2 separate regions of the Homo sapiens genome follow, and region 1 is linked to region 2. Evidence: promoter capture Hi-C in 16 types of primary human blood cells and fetal thymus (Javierre and others, 2016). All regions are on one chromosome and are shown on one strand. The core of a region is centred on a gene start or on the middle of the fragment in contact, and the rest is flanking DNA. Distances in the headings are between cores, read along the strand shown. Region 1 has its middle 12 kb from the start of MAPKAPK2. Region 2 holds the start of PIGR (polymeric immunoglobulin receptor).

Region 1 (6,715 bases), core at 150-2,649, 280 kb before region 2:
TCTTGCAACAATGAAATAATATGCTGAGCTGGATGGTGGAGAGGTCCTGTCTGCTGAGCATGGCAAAGCAGAGGACGGTCAGACCCGGATCCTTGATGGAGCTTGAGGACTTTGTTGAGCTGCTGAACAACCCGAGATCACCTCCCTTTAGCCTTGTTAAGAAACTATTAGCATCTTTATGATTTAAGCCATTGCCAGTTGTCTTTTCAGCTGCATGCGTCCTAACTGATATAGGATGGTTCTCATATTCTGGATCCAAGGTAATTTAGGCTGGTTTTTAAATGAGATTAGGGTACCAGTAAGACCTTTTGAAATGTTGAGGTAAACCATCTTTGACTGTGGTTTCTTCCCTAAAGTAGCACTCAAGGCCATCATTCTTTAAAACAATCCTGATTGTTTAAACAGACCAATTACTTTGCTATGGGTAATGAAGATTATGGAAGTCAGGCCTTTCTGCCTTTTTTGGTTGAAGCCAAGTCAAACTAAGCCTTCCAAGCAAGAGACACCCATTTGTCCTCTCCACAGCTTCTCATAATTATTTCCATGCCTTATTGATACATTGGGAAGTAAACCCTCCTAATTATTGCAATTGGCTACATTTTTATTGTAATATGAGATAAGACTTTGGATATCATGCTTTTCTCTAGAATTTAAGACAAAGGAACTCTCTAGACTGAGAGTTCAAAAGGCTGAGCTTTTGTCTAGAATGTGAGCCTAATGGAAAAGGCGAGATATTTGCAAGGGAGTCATTGCACGCATACTCAGCAAGCACAGACTGCTCCTCTCGGGGCTACTGAGGAGGGCACAGGTGACTGGGAATGGAGTATCTGCCCTTGAGAAATTGACAACTTGGGAGAAAAAAAAGTCCTCAAAAGTGACGAATAAAAGGCCAAGTATAACAAGCATCATAAAGGATGGATTGGAAAAGCACGGGGTTGAAGGCAAGGAATCTAGTTAGTGAGCTAGTGGAATATTCTAGGTGAGAGAAATCTAGGGCAGTTGCAGGGGAGATGGAAAAGAGGGCAGGATACAGGAGGCCTTGCTGAGATAGAGTCAGCAAGAATTGCCAGCTGATTAGATGTGGGATGTGAGGAGAGGGGTGAATAAAAGGACAAACCTCCTGAAACAACAGTGGGAGAGATTTTAACAAATCGTCTGTATTGTCTTCTAGGTATGGGGGGAGGATAGGAAGACAAGAAAAACATCTAGATCATGGTTCTCAAACTTTCATTTAGCTGAGGAATATCTTCTTCAACAAAGCCATCTACATACAGCCAATATATTTGGGGTAGAATGTGTTTTTTTCCCTCCCCTTTCCTTGTTTAGGAGTTGGGCATGCACCAGGGTAGGATAACAGAAGACAGCACAATTGTTCTGTGCAATGATTCGGGGAGGTTCTATGCAGGGCCAGCTTCATGGGCATGCAAGCCATGCATTGCACAGGGACCTGCATTTATAAGGACGCTGTGTGGGTTTAATACTCACTTGGAATTCTTTTCTTTTTTTCAAGACGGAGTCTTGCTCTGTCACCCACGCTGAAGTGCAGCGGCGCGATCTCCGCTCACAACAAGCTCCGCCTCCCGGGTTCACGGCCGTTCTCCTGCCTCAGCCTCCCAAGTAGCTGGGACTATAGGCGCCCGCCACCATGCCCGGCTAATTTTTTTTTTTTTTGTATTTTTAGTAGAGACGGGGTTTCACCGTGTTAGCCAGGATGGTCTTTATCTCCTGACCTCGTGATCCGCCCTCCTCGGCCTCCCAAAGTGCTGGGATTACAAGCATGAGCCACCGCGCCCAGCCTGGAATTCTTAATAATTTCTGAACAAGGTGCTATGCATGTTTATTTTGCACTGGGTCCGGCAAAGGAGCTAACTGGCCCTGAACAGAGGTAGGGAACTAAAGAAACTCGTCTTTTACAGGCTCGGAGATGCCAAGACAGCCAGGGTGGAAATGCATATGAATGATAATGTCCTAATAGTAGTAGTCTATTTCACAGGGTTGCTGCAAGTGTTGAATGAGAAAATATGTGGAAAGTGCTTAGAACAGTGTCTGGCACATAGGGAATGCTGTGGAAGTGTTTGATATCATTACTGTTCCCTCCTTGTACTGGTTCAACACCTGACAGCCTGAGGTTGATTATTCAAAGGGTCACAGTGGGCTTTTCTCATTTTCCCATTTCTAACCTGTCGCTCACCATCCAGCCCCAGGCTTATGATTGTCCTTTGGGGGAAAAAACTCCAACAACAATAATTATCACAATAAATACATAGGTGAGATCACATCCTCTCTTGATCCTTAGTGTAGCTAGCTGGTGCTTCAGGGTGTGTCTGTGTGCTCTGTGTGTCTTTGTTTGTGTCTGAGAGGGAGGTTTTTTTTTTTTCATTTAATTTTAATTCAATTAATTAGAGGCTCTCTCTGGTGGTTTCATTTTGTTTTTCTTTACCTGCCTTTTTGGTTCATATAGCGAGGACCCTGGAACCACCTGCTTCCTCCCTGCCACCGCTTCTCCTCAGGTCCCCAGGGGAAGCCAGGATCTAAAGGATGACTGTGTCACCATTGTCCTCAAGATAATGGCTCCCTCCCCCGCTTCCCTCCACTCCTATCTCATTCTCTTGAGCCTGTGGAGTGTTCAACCTTTGTCCTTCGAGTATAACCCTTTACTGGCGATAAAAAATTAAAATACTGGCTCAACACCTCTACTCCACGAAGCTGTTGTCTTGACCAAAGTCTGAAAGCTGCCCCTCCTACCCCTATTCTAATCTTAGACATTCCCAGCACATTCTTAGTAAGAGGGAACTCTCTCTCATTGTCCTAGGATTTTAAGTCTGCAAGAACTACGCATTTTTTTTTCCTTAGCAGAAGCAGTTGTACTTTTTCCTGACAACTTTGCAAGTTCCCCATAAAGTTGGAAATTCCCTTCCTCGTTACAGCTCTTGATAGATGCAGAAGAAGCCTAGTCTGGACCTGTCTTCTCTCCTGACCTGCTGTGTAACTCTTGGGAAGTTAGTTTAAATGTTTTTGGGCCTCAGATCACAGAGATTAACTTGACTGGGGACAGACTGAAGGCTGAAAAGTGTTTGGGAATGATTTATTTTTAGAGGACCTTGGGAGAAGGGTTTTACAAATGTCTCTAAGGTAAGAATAGCCATTTGGGGAGTTACCAAGACACTTAGATTCCCCCTCCTGAAAAAATGAGTTTAATAATTTCCATTGCTAATTTCTATGTCCCCACCCTTTCCTCCAAGCCTGCCTCCACCCTCAGCTGTTGATTGATGGAGTAGATGTGCTCTACTCCCCCTCCCACTGATGCACACACTTCTGGGAGGCCCTATATAAATAGAAGCCAGAGGCAAGGCTGCAGAATTATTATTATCATTATGATGATGATTATGTTTTCAGCATGAGAAACAGGAAGTGAAACTGACTAAAATGCCCAGTGATATGTGGCTGACCCTGTCTCCTCAGCTGGACCTAAAGGCAAAGGAGAAACTGGCCAAAGAAAACTGTAGCCCTGCCACAAGCTTTAACAACTTCTGGTGGTGTGTGTGTGTGTGTGTGTGTGTGTGCGTGCGTGTGTGTGTGTTACAAGGAGTGTCTTTAAATAAGCAGCTTCTAGAACTTGTGATCTTTCAACCTTATTTTTATGCCCAAGCTTCCCTCTTCATGTGATATCCTCAGAGTTCTTCCTTACTACTTCCTTCCCCATTTCCTAGAGAGAGCTTCTCACGGCTGTCAGAAGATGTTAAAGGAGAAGTCCAATGATTAATTACTTCCCACTACACATGCCTTATCTGCCCAGGCCAGGTCTGAGCTGTGTGCCTTTCTTGATCACCGGGTCTGTCTCCAGGGCAGACATATTCCCTGGGCCCCCAAGGCCTTTCTTCCCTCTCCCTTCAGGGGGCCATGTTTTCTCTTCTGCCTCACTGCTTGAGGCTCCATCTGCTTGGTTGATTATTCATGTCCTTTGTCTTTTTCAGGAATCGATTATGGATAAATGGTAGTTAGAAAACAGGGCTTCAGGGCCGATGTAATTATCCCACTTTGACATTTCCATTTTCAGCACCATGGCCTCTGGAAACACTGACACAGTGAAAATGACCTGATTTTCATACTACCTTGTTAGTTCAACTTCCTAGGGAGAAAAAAGCAGGCAGCTATGTGGAGAGTAAATGAACCAAGTTGGTGTTTCAGAAACGCCTCCTCATTTGGACAATATTCTGAAAAAAAAAATGCATAGGAAACAGAAGAGAAAAAGGCATCTGCGGGGGATAGCAAAGAAAGAGAAAGAAAGAGCATTTCAGCTGTGCAGGGCATTGGGCTCACATTCTGGTCCCTGGGCCCACACCTTTTTTATGGCTTTCATACCAAGATCTCGAGCTAGATTAATAGATTATTGGAATTTTGGGTTGGGAAAAACATAACTGTCTTATTCTCGCTATAATTTTTTCTGAGCCTAGAATAGGGGGTCCAGCGAAGTCCACCCAGGAGCTGGGATGGAGGATGAGGATCATAACAAGGTACTTGATTGAGGAAGAACAACTCTAGTATGGAGCTTTATGCCCCAAATTGCAGCAGTTATGAGTCTTACTCCCTGCATAGGAGAACATGGTGGCTGAGAAGACAGGTGTTAGTTAGGTCCCGGCTTTCTGCATTCAAATCCCCACTCCAGACCTTACTTTAAGTTGCTTAAATTCAATGGGCCTCAGTTTCCTCATCTGGGCCCCTGGAAGGATGTTAGTAACACCTATCTTGCAGGGTTGTTATGGGGCATTGATTGAGTCAACACCTGGAATCACAGGCATTGTAGGAACATAATAGGTGCTCACTAAAAGAGAGCTATTACCGTGAACTTTTAAATTTGTCTTTGTCTATGTGCCATTCACTATCCTCCATTTCATCCATCCAGCAAAAATACAAATGCCATATTCTGTGACAGGCGCTGGGCAAGTCACCAGGGATAGACACAAAGCAGAATATAAATCTTGTCAGAGGATTTATCCTCCCCAGGTTTCTCTTATTTCTTAATCCAGAGCAGAACACATAACAAGTTTGAACCCAATTTTCACTGTTCCTTGGTCCTGTTCCTCACCCATTCTCTCCATTTGCTTTTTCTGCTTCCTTGCTCTTTCTTTCCCAACTCTGTAGGAAGATAGGCCCCAGGTATCTCTGCCAAGGAAGGTCCCTGGAATCCTGCCAGGCTCTTCTAGGACTTGTCTTGGTGAGGGAGCCCTGGGAGGGGCAGGTCCCCAGGGAAGCCTGTTGCTCCTCTCACTCAGCAATCCCTCTTGGGCCAGGCTCCCCTTCCCAGGCCCTCAGCTCTCCCACAAGATCTCTGGGGAAGCTGGAAGAGGGCCACTAGGCCCTGTAATAACCACACTTCTTCATGGTAAACAAGAACCAGATTCCTGGGGAGTGACGCAGGCAGGAGCTCTGTGGCTGAGGCAGCTGTGATTATACCAAGACATGAAGAAACACCTCTTGCTCAGCCTTGGCCTGCTTGGGGAAGGCCCAGGAGAGAAGCTGCCCATGTGTCCCTCTTTGCTACCCTTCTAGTCATTCTTGGCCTGAATTACAGGGGCCTTGGCACCAATTGGCTCTGCAGACACAAGTGGGCAACCATCAGCCCCGATCTCCCAACCAGACTAGGTTCCTCCATCACCTCTCCTTTTCTAGGATTTTCCCCACCCTCTCCCCTACTCATGTGTCTGACTCCCACCCTTGGCTGTCATCCTGCACTCCCTGTGCCTTCCTTCTTGAGGGAGAATCATGCATGTCCCTCACCAATGCCAGTCGAAGCCTTAGGCTCCTGTGCAGAGGCCTTGATCCTGGGCACCCAGGAATGAAGCTGCCCTGAAGGGGCACTGGCCCACAGGCTGTCAAAGCTGGTCCAGGGCCTTCATCTTCACAATGTGACTTCTGAGTGTAGGATCAGTTCTCCTGGATGTTTAGGCCAAGCACAGTTCTTGCTAGTTCTTAGATGGAATGTTGAACTGGCTTAAATACTTCTAGGATACACAAGAAACTGGGGTGGGGAACTGGGTGGCTGAGGGCTTGGGTGGCTGAGGGCTTAGTTGGCCAGGGAGACATTTTACAAGCTACCCTTTAGGGCTTTTGCATTTTGTACCATGTGAATGTATTAAAAGTTTTCAAAAAAAAGAATTCTGTGATCTTGTAAACCTCTTGTATGTCAGATATAGAGAATTTCTGGCCCCTGTCCTCATGGTGGAAGGGAGAGTGGGATAGTTGTGTGGAAAAGGCCTCATTTGGGTCAGACTTCAGGCTTAGAAGGGGCTGACAAGGGCAGGTGTCTGCTTGGGTTTGAGATTTTCTGAGCATCTGAATGACTTAGAATCTTGCACAAGGAGGATAGTGTTGTTGAGTGTGATGGTCCTGGAGGGAGGAGGATGGGCCTGAGCTTCTGTCCAGGCCTAGAAGTACATTTGACTTTCTGTGTCTATGAATTTGACTACTTAGGTACCTCAGATAAGTGGAATCATATAATATTTGTCTTTTTGTGTCTGGCTTATTTTATTAGCGCAATATTTGCAAGGTTAGTCCATGTTATGGCGTGTATCAGAATTTCCTTTTTTTTGAGATGGAGTCTTGCTCTGTCGCCTAGGCTGGAGTGGTATATATATATATATCTGTTCCATTCTTTTTGGTGTATCCCCAGAAGTGTAATTGCTAAATCATATGGTAATTCTATGTTTAATTTTTT
Region 2 (6,850 bases), core at 474-2,973:
ATGCATAGGTATTTTTTTTTAAGTTGGATAGTTTGCTTTTTAGGTGACATCAAAATGTCCTCATGACCATATCAAAATGGCTGTACCAAAACCTCATCGTTCAAACTTGCTGGTGACTTCACACCACTCACATAGACTCACGGTGTCTTGGTTTCCTCAACTAGGGAATGACATCACAAAACCAACCCTGCCTACCTCCTCGTTGGTATCAAGGGAGAATGAGACGAAGGTGTGAAAGCCCAGGGCAAGTGGGTTTACTAAATGGAAGCCTGTGTGACCCCATTTTTTATCACCTAAAGCCACAGAGGTCTAGCGGCACTAGGAGATAAGCAGAGAGAGTTGCTTTCCTGACTCCTGGCTCAGTGTTCTTTCTGCTACTTTAGCACATCCAGGGGCGGGACAAGGATGGAGAGAGAATTCCAGATCTGGCTCTGGGAAGACCTATGTCCAGGCACCAGACAGCTGCCTTCTACCTAAACCCCTGAAATTGGCATCTCCTCTCCAGATGTTAAAGGATCTATAATTCCCCTAGTGAAGGGGGAAAGTGATGGCACAAAATAGGAGCAGCTTCAATGGCCCCAGGCACTGTGGCAATTGCACAAAGGGAACTGGGGGTCAGGGATGGAGCTTGACCCGCTGCTGCCCTTGTGCCGGACGGTCCCACTGCTGGCTTGGGCTGCTGTCAGGATGGGCAAAGGGAGGGGAAGCCCATGTCTGAGATCTGCTGGCTGCAGAGCCAGGAGGAACAGCAGGAGTTGATCATGCTGCCTGTGGGGCTCAGCTCCACCTCACTCAGTGATCCCGTGAGGACCTCTTTTTTTCTACCTCTAGGAAGGGCAGGATGATGCGATGACACACATTTATGTCTCCCATGGCAGGAATCTGCTAGAGCAAAGCGAGGTGGAATTGCAAAGGATTTCAGAGGTTCTTGGAAGCCCAGAAAAAAGGAGCTGAACATGCCTTTGCCAGAAAGCCACAAGTGGGAAACCTCAAAGAATGGAAGAGGACTTGCTAGGTGCCATACTTTATGCGCACTATCTAATTCCAGGTCTGTTGGTGTTCAATAAATCCTTGATTAATTAAACTAAACTGAAAAATATGAAACAATTCCTATTTCATTCTAGAGGTTACAAAGCTATTTCACCTGTGTTTTCTCATTTGAACCCACATTGACCCTGAATGATAGGTGTTATTTCTATCTTTGTTTTACAGATTAAGAAACTGAGGATCAGAGAGGTTAGGTGGCTTGTCTAAGGCCACACAGTTAATCAACTATGAGGAGTTAGGAAATCCAGGCACAGACCAAGCTGAAAGAGTAGAATTACATATGCTGACCACAGAGGTCCCTTCCCACCTGCTGATATTTCTCAGAAAAGGATGGGGGGCTTCCACACACGTGCATCCCTACTCGTCCCACTGCGATATGCACGCTTACTCCCCAGCCACACACAGTCACACAGTCTGCCTCCTTGTCCTTGTCACCCCACTATCTAGGAGACTGGGAGTTGGGAATGGAGGGGGTTACCTGAGCCATCGTCCCGAGCCCTTTCCAGATAGCATCCCGTCTGGGGATCCCAGAGCAGTAACACTTACTTTTAGCCACTTCCTTCTCTCCCGTTGATCTGACTTCAGGGACACAGCCTGCTGGCCAGTTGGTAACCCCTGCCTCTCTAGGAGCTACTGGCAGGGCACTGGACGCTGCTGCCAAAACTGAAACTCTGCTCAGTGTTTGACCCACACCTGGGCTCTTAAAGGGCCACTCTCCCACAGGCACCGTGGCCAGCCAGGGTCATGTGACTCTCACAGATCCCTTGCTTTCCTTTCATTTTGGCCTTCCTGGCTGGCTCCATTTGGTTTCCTTTGACCTTGGGGAGACTCTGTTACTTGGGAATCCTCCATCGTTGCAGCTTCAGGATGAGGGACAGAATGTCAAGCGTGAAGATGCTGTTCTGTCGCTTTCTAGCTGCAAGACCTTTGGCAAGTCACCTTCCTATTTCTTTTCATCTGGAAAAGAGGGATGGTAATACCAAATCTACAGGTAGAGGATATAGCCCGGTATTAGCTCTAAAATACCTGGCCCAATGCTTGATTTGAAGTTGACATCATCTGATGGGGCACAGGTGGCAGGAGTGGCTGTCGTAGTCCTTGGTCTCATATCCCCAGTTGCTCTGGAATCCCCTCCGACTCCCTAGGTTACTTAGCCTGGACAAAAATGCCCCTTATACACCTCCTGCCAAGCCCCTTTTACCAGTCCCAGAGCTCCAGGAACTGGCAGGACTGTGGCCCTTCCTGTTTCACTCCCCAGAGTCATGAAAGACTCGCTGCTTCTGGGCTCCCCTGAACATGGCTGACCTCAGAGTCTTGTTAGGACCCGGGCTCGGCTCCATAGCAAGGACGGTGCTGACCTGCTGAGCTGAAGTAGCACCTCCTTCCCTATCTGTTAGTCCATGCCAAAACATGACCTGGTTGGGACTCCCAGGTGTTCCCCAAATGATCGTGGCAGTCCTGTGACAAAAGTGAAGCCCACTCCCCAACACACACGTGTATGGCCCCCCGACCCCTCACTGCAAACCCCCACAGAAATGCTGCCCATCCTACCTGTGCAGGGCTGACCCAGGCTCTCCCTACAGAGTCCTATAGGCCAAACACCAGAAGGGGAAGGAAAAATAGAGAAATAGAGCCCTGGAGAAACACAAGGCAGCCAGAGCCCTGGGTCTTATTTTAGCTAACCACTGGCTCACTTGTGGGTGTTAACACACAATCACAGATTTCAATGGCAAGCAAAAAAACCCCATAATTTCTTTATGTAGCTTAATTTCTCTCTTTTTTTGTGGTTTGCAAACTTAGATTTTCTTTTTTTATTTTGTTTTAGGTTCCAGGATTACATGTGCAGAACGTGCAGGTTTGTGACACAGGTAAACGTGTGCCATGATGGTTTCCTGCACCCGTCAACCCACCACCTAGGTATTAAGCCCCACATGCATTAGCTATTAGTTCTAATGCTCTCCCTCCCCCCACCCCCCCCAACAGGCCCGGATGTGTAATGTTCCCCTCCCTGTGTCCGTGTGTTCTCATTGTTCAGCTCCCATTTATGAGTGAGAACATGTGGTGTTTGGTTTTCTGTTCCTGTGTTAGTTTGATGAGGATGATGGCTTCCAGATGTAGCTTAATTTCAAACCCTAAACCCATAATCTGACTGATAAAAGAAAACAAGTTACCTAGTCACTTCTAGGCAAGCTCAGCCCAATTCAGTGATCTCTCAGTCACTTCACTCCAGATTTAAAATTTAGCCTCATTATGGAGTTCCCTTCCTTTTTGTCTCCCTTCTCTCCCCTGGGGTCCAGTCTGGAGAGAGCGGTCTTGGGTGAGGGGGTGGTCAATGTTACTGCTGAGGCAGTGAAAAGGGGTGGCCCATTATTATTTTGGTCTTGCTTTGTCACGATGCTGTGCTGGCCTTGGGCTCCAGAAGGAAATAGTTTTGTCTACTGAGATGTGACTTCCCCTGCTTGGTCAGTGGGCTTTGTCCCTGCTCATCCTGAGGGTTCTGTGGTCCACACTGTGCCCTCCTAGTCCATACACTGAGCTCCCTGGGGTGGGTCTTCCAGGCCCTCAGCCTCTCCTTGCCCACCTTGTGGGTGCAGGGTGAGTTTGGCTGATCACAGACTCCTGAGGCCTTTGGGAGATCCTGTGCAGCAGAGTCACATTTTCCCCCAACACTCTTGTAACCTCCTGTGTGCCAGTGTTCCCATATAATTGGGGGTACAATGGATATCAGCAAGACTGTGGACCACCAAAGTTCTCTACAGGATGGGCGAAGGTGAGGGCCCCTCAATCTGGAGTTTTCAAGCCCACCTGGATATCTCTATCATTGTTAATCCCCTCTCCCCTACTGTAGCCTGGACTCTGCCCCATGGTGGTGGGTGGGAGGGCACCAAGACACATCAGTAACTAAGCTCTCCTTTTTACTCTTCAGCAGTCTTTCTCCTCCCCAGTTCTGGGGTTAATGTCTAGCAGGAGGATGCGAGGGGAGACAAGATATGCAGGTGCAGAGATGAGACAAGCCTGGTTCTGTCAGATTATAGCTCCTTTCAAAGGATTCCCGATTTATACCTCTCTCCATTTGAACTCAATAGTCAAAATATTTGTAGGGTTTGTTTCTTCCTTCCCAAAGCAAGAAATAAGTTGTGTCCAGTTGTCCAGGCTGGAGTAGAAGTCAAGGCAGGTTCACAGAACACTAGTGCAGAAATTTGACGAGCAAAGGCTTGCAGGGAGGAAGGGGAGAACACTCATTAAATCATTTCTTCTCATGCTGCCTTGGTGGGCGTGGAGGACAGGTTGCAGATTTCCTTCCCTGCTTTGCTATTTCATGATGGTGGGTAATTTACTAGATCATGTCCTGCTGCATGTTTTCAATAGTCTCCAAAACTGTCTTAGCTGACCCATGTCAGACACACACACATACACATACACACACACACACCCCACATACCTGGAGCCCACTGATCCTACTGATCCAGTTTACAGAAAGGGGAAAATGAGAAGTAGAGCCCTGGGAAGAGGCAGGGAGTCAAAAATCCTACGTCCTATTCTGGGCTCAGCCACACGCCGGTGGTGTGATTGGACTCACTTGCTTCCCCTCTCGCACTGTGGTTTCCCCATCTGGAACCCAGTGGCCCTAAAATAGTACTATTTCTCAGCCCTGGGGGAGGAGGGACAGGCCAAGAGAGTCCATTGCCCAAATCAATAATAATGATGATAACAGCAGTGATTATACTTTCCAAACTTACAACACTTCATCTGCTCAACCCTCCCTGCTTCTTTTAAAGTAATCATACAAGAAAATATACCAGCAGAAGAACAGCTTCTCACTGGACTTTCCTGACTCTGGGACTCAGCATAAGTCACTGTGGAACACCTTTGTTTTGTTCCTGATTCTGCCTCTAATTGCCGAGTGACCTTTGCCAGATCACTTCATCCTGTAGGTCTGCAGGATTGTTTGTTCCATCAGAGGACAGTGCCAAATTGTTCCCAAGGCTCTTTCAGTTCTAGGATTCTGTGTTTTGGTTGAGCACCGTATTAGTTTCTGACAGCTGCTATAACAAATTAACACAACTTTAGTGGCTTAAGAAAACAGAAATGTATGCTCTTTCTGTTCTGGAGACCAGAAGCCTGAAATCAAGGTGCCAGCAGGGCCACCCTCCAGGCTCTAGACGATAATCCGTTGCTTGCCTCTTCTAGCTTCTGGTTGCTGCTGACATTCTTTGGTGTTCTTTGGCACGTAGCTGTGTCACTCCAACCTCTGCCTTCATAGTCACATTGGCTTCTGTGTATGTCTCAAATAACTCTCTGTTTCTCTGTTATATGGATGGTATTTAGGGCCCACCCAGCTAATCCAAGATGATGTCCTCATCTCAAGATCCTGAACTTCATCACATCTACAAAGACTCTTTTCCAAATAAGGTCACACTTCTGGGCTCCAGAGATTGAGACATAGACAAACCTTGGGGAAGAGGGATGGTGGTTATTTCTCGGCCTACCAACCATGACAAGCTCAAGGTCCAGGGAGATTTGAGACATGCAGGAGAGTGCACCCCTGTTCCACAAGGGCAAGTAGTCCAATTGAGAAGTCATCACTCACATGCAATACTGTCAAGGAACAACACAAGCCAGGAGGTAGCAAGCATAGAGAGCCTGTGTAGCCTTGGGAAAAGAGCAGGGGCTCTGGACCTCGACGCCCTGGGTTCACATCCAAGCCTTACCACCTGCCAGCCAGGGAACCTTGAACAAATTATTTAATGTCTCTGGGGAAAATTATACTTACTGTATAGGTATGTTATAAAGATTAAGTATAGGCCAGGTTCAGTGGTTCACACCTCTAGTCCCAGCACTTTGGGAGGCCAAGGTGGGAGGATCACTTGGGGTCAGGAGTTGGAGACTAGCCTGGGCCACATAGCAAGACCCAGTCTCTACAAAAACAAAAAAATTAGCCAGGGTGGTGGCACACCCCTGTAGTCCCAGCTACTTGGGAGGCTGAGGTGGGAGGATTGCTTGAATCCAGGAGTTGCAGTCTGAAATGAGCTATGATTGCACCATTGCACTCTGGCCTGGGTGACAGAACAAGACCCTATCTCCCCAAAATAAAAATCTAAAAAAAGATTAGCTATAATATGTTCAGTGACTAGCATCTAATAGGCGCTTATGATTCAGCAGCAAATAAACGGGACAGCAAAAGGCAAGTGTGTGTGTGTACATGCATACGTGTCTGGCACTGTCTGCTAAGACAGTTTTGGAGACTACTAGGAGCATGTACCAGAACATGATGGCGTAACTAGAGTGATTCTCCACTGAATGATGAAGGACCAAGAACAGAAAAGTGAAATGACTTGCTCCAGTTTGCACAGGAGGTCATCACACAGATGGGTCTAGAACCAAGGTTTTCTAGAAAGCATTTTCCTCCACTTCCCAAAACTTTTGCTGTCAGGATGAATTTTTTGGATGATATTTCTACAGACAGCAAGGGACGTCCGTTTACACCCTTGGTTTAGCCAGAGAATATTGCAGATGACCAAGCCCACAGGCTCACACAAATCCAACCCTTCAGGCTGTCTTTAGCTTGATGCTCCACAACCATGGGTTGACACAATCACCAACAGAGAAAGGGAAGCTAGATAGCCCTTCTTCACTCTCCACTGCTCAGCGGGCATCCCTCCACATGGATGGTTCCTTTGAGTGTGGCTTTTGCCATAAAAATGAGATAAGAGGGACAGAGGAAATGCTCTTTACTGCCAACTCTCTGCTCCTATGTACAGATCTTCACCTGAGTCAATGTTTAACCCCTGACTGGAGTCAA

The links. Contacts are between HindIII fragments. The CHiCAGO score rates a contact against its expected background, and 5 or more counts as called.
Region 1: a contact is called between a fragment that was not itself captured here and the fragment with the promoter of PIGR in region 2, in 8 of 17 cell types (activated CD4 T cells, naive CD8 T cells, non-activated CD4 T cells and 5 more). The highest score is 8.2, in activated CD4 T cells.

What each region holds. Positions count from the first base shown.
Region 1 is chr1:206,669,631-206,676,345 of GRCh38, forward strand. No RefSeq gene overlaps it. Among named protein-coding and RNA genes, the nearest start is that of MAPKAPK2, 12 kb to the right of the region's middle. The HindIII fragment of the contact is 4,234 bases long and covers 1-3,516 here.
Region 2 is chr1:206,944,743-206,951,592 of GRCh38, forward strand. PIGR (polymeric immunoglobulin receptor) reads right to left here and starts at 1,724. Exons shown (of 11, transcript NM_002644.4): 1 at 1,594-1,724. The HindIII fragment of the contact is 20,587 bases long and covers 1-6,850 here.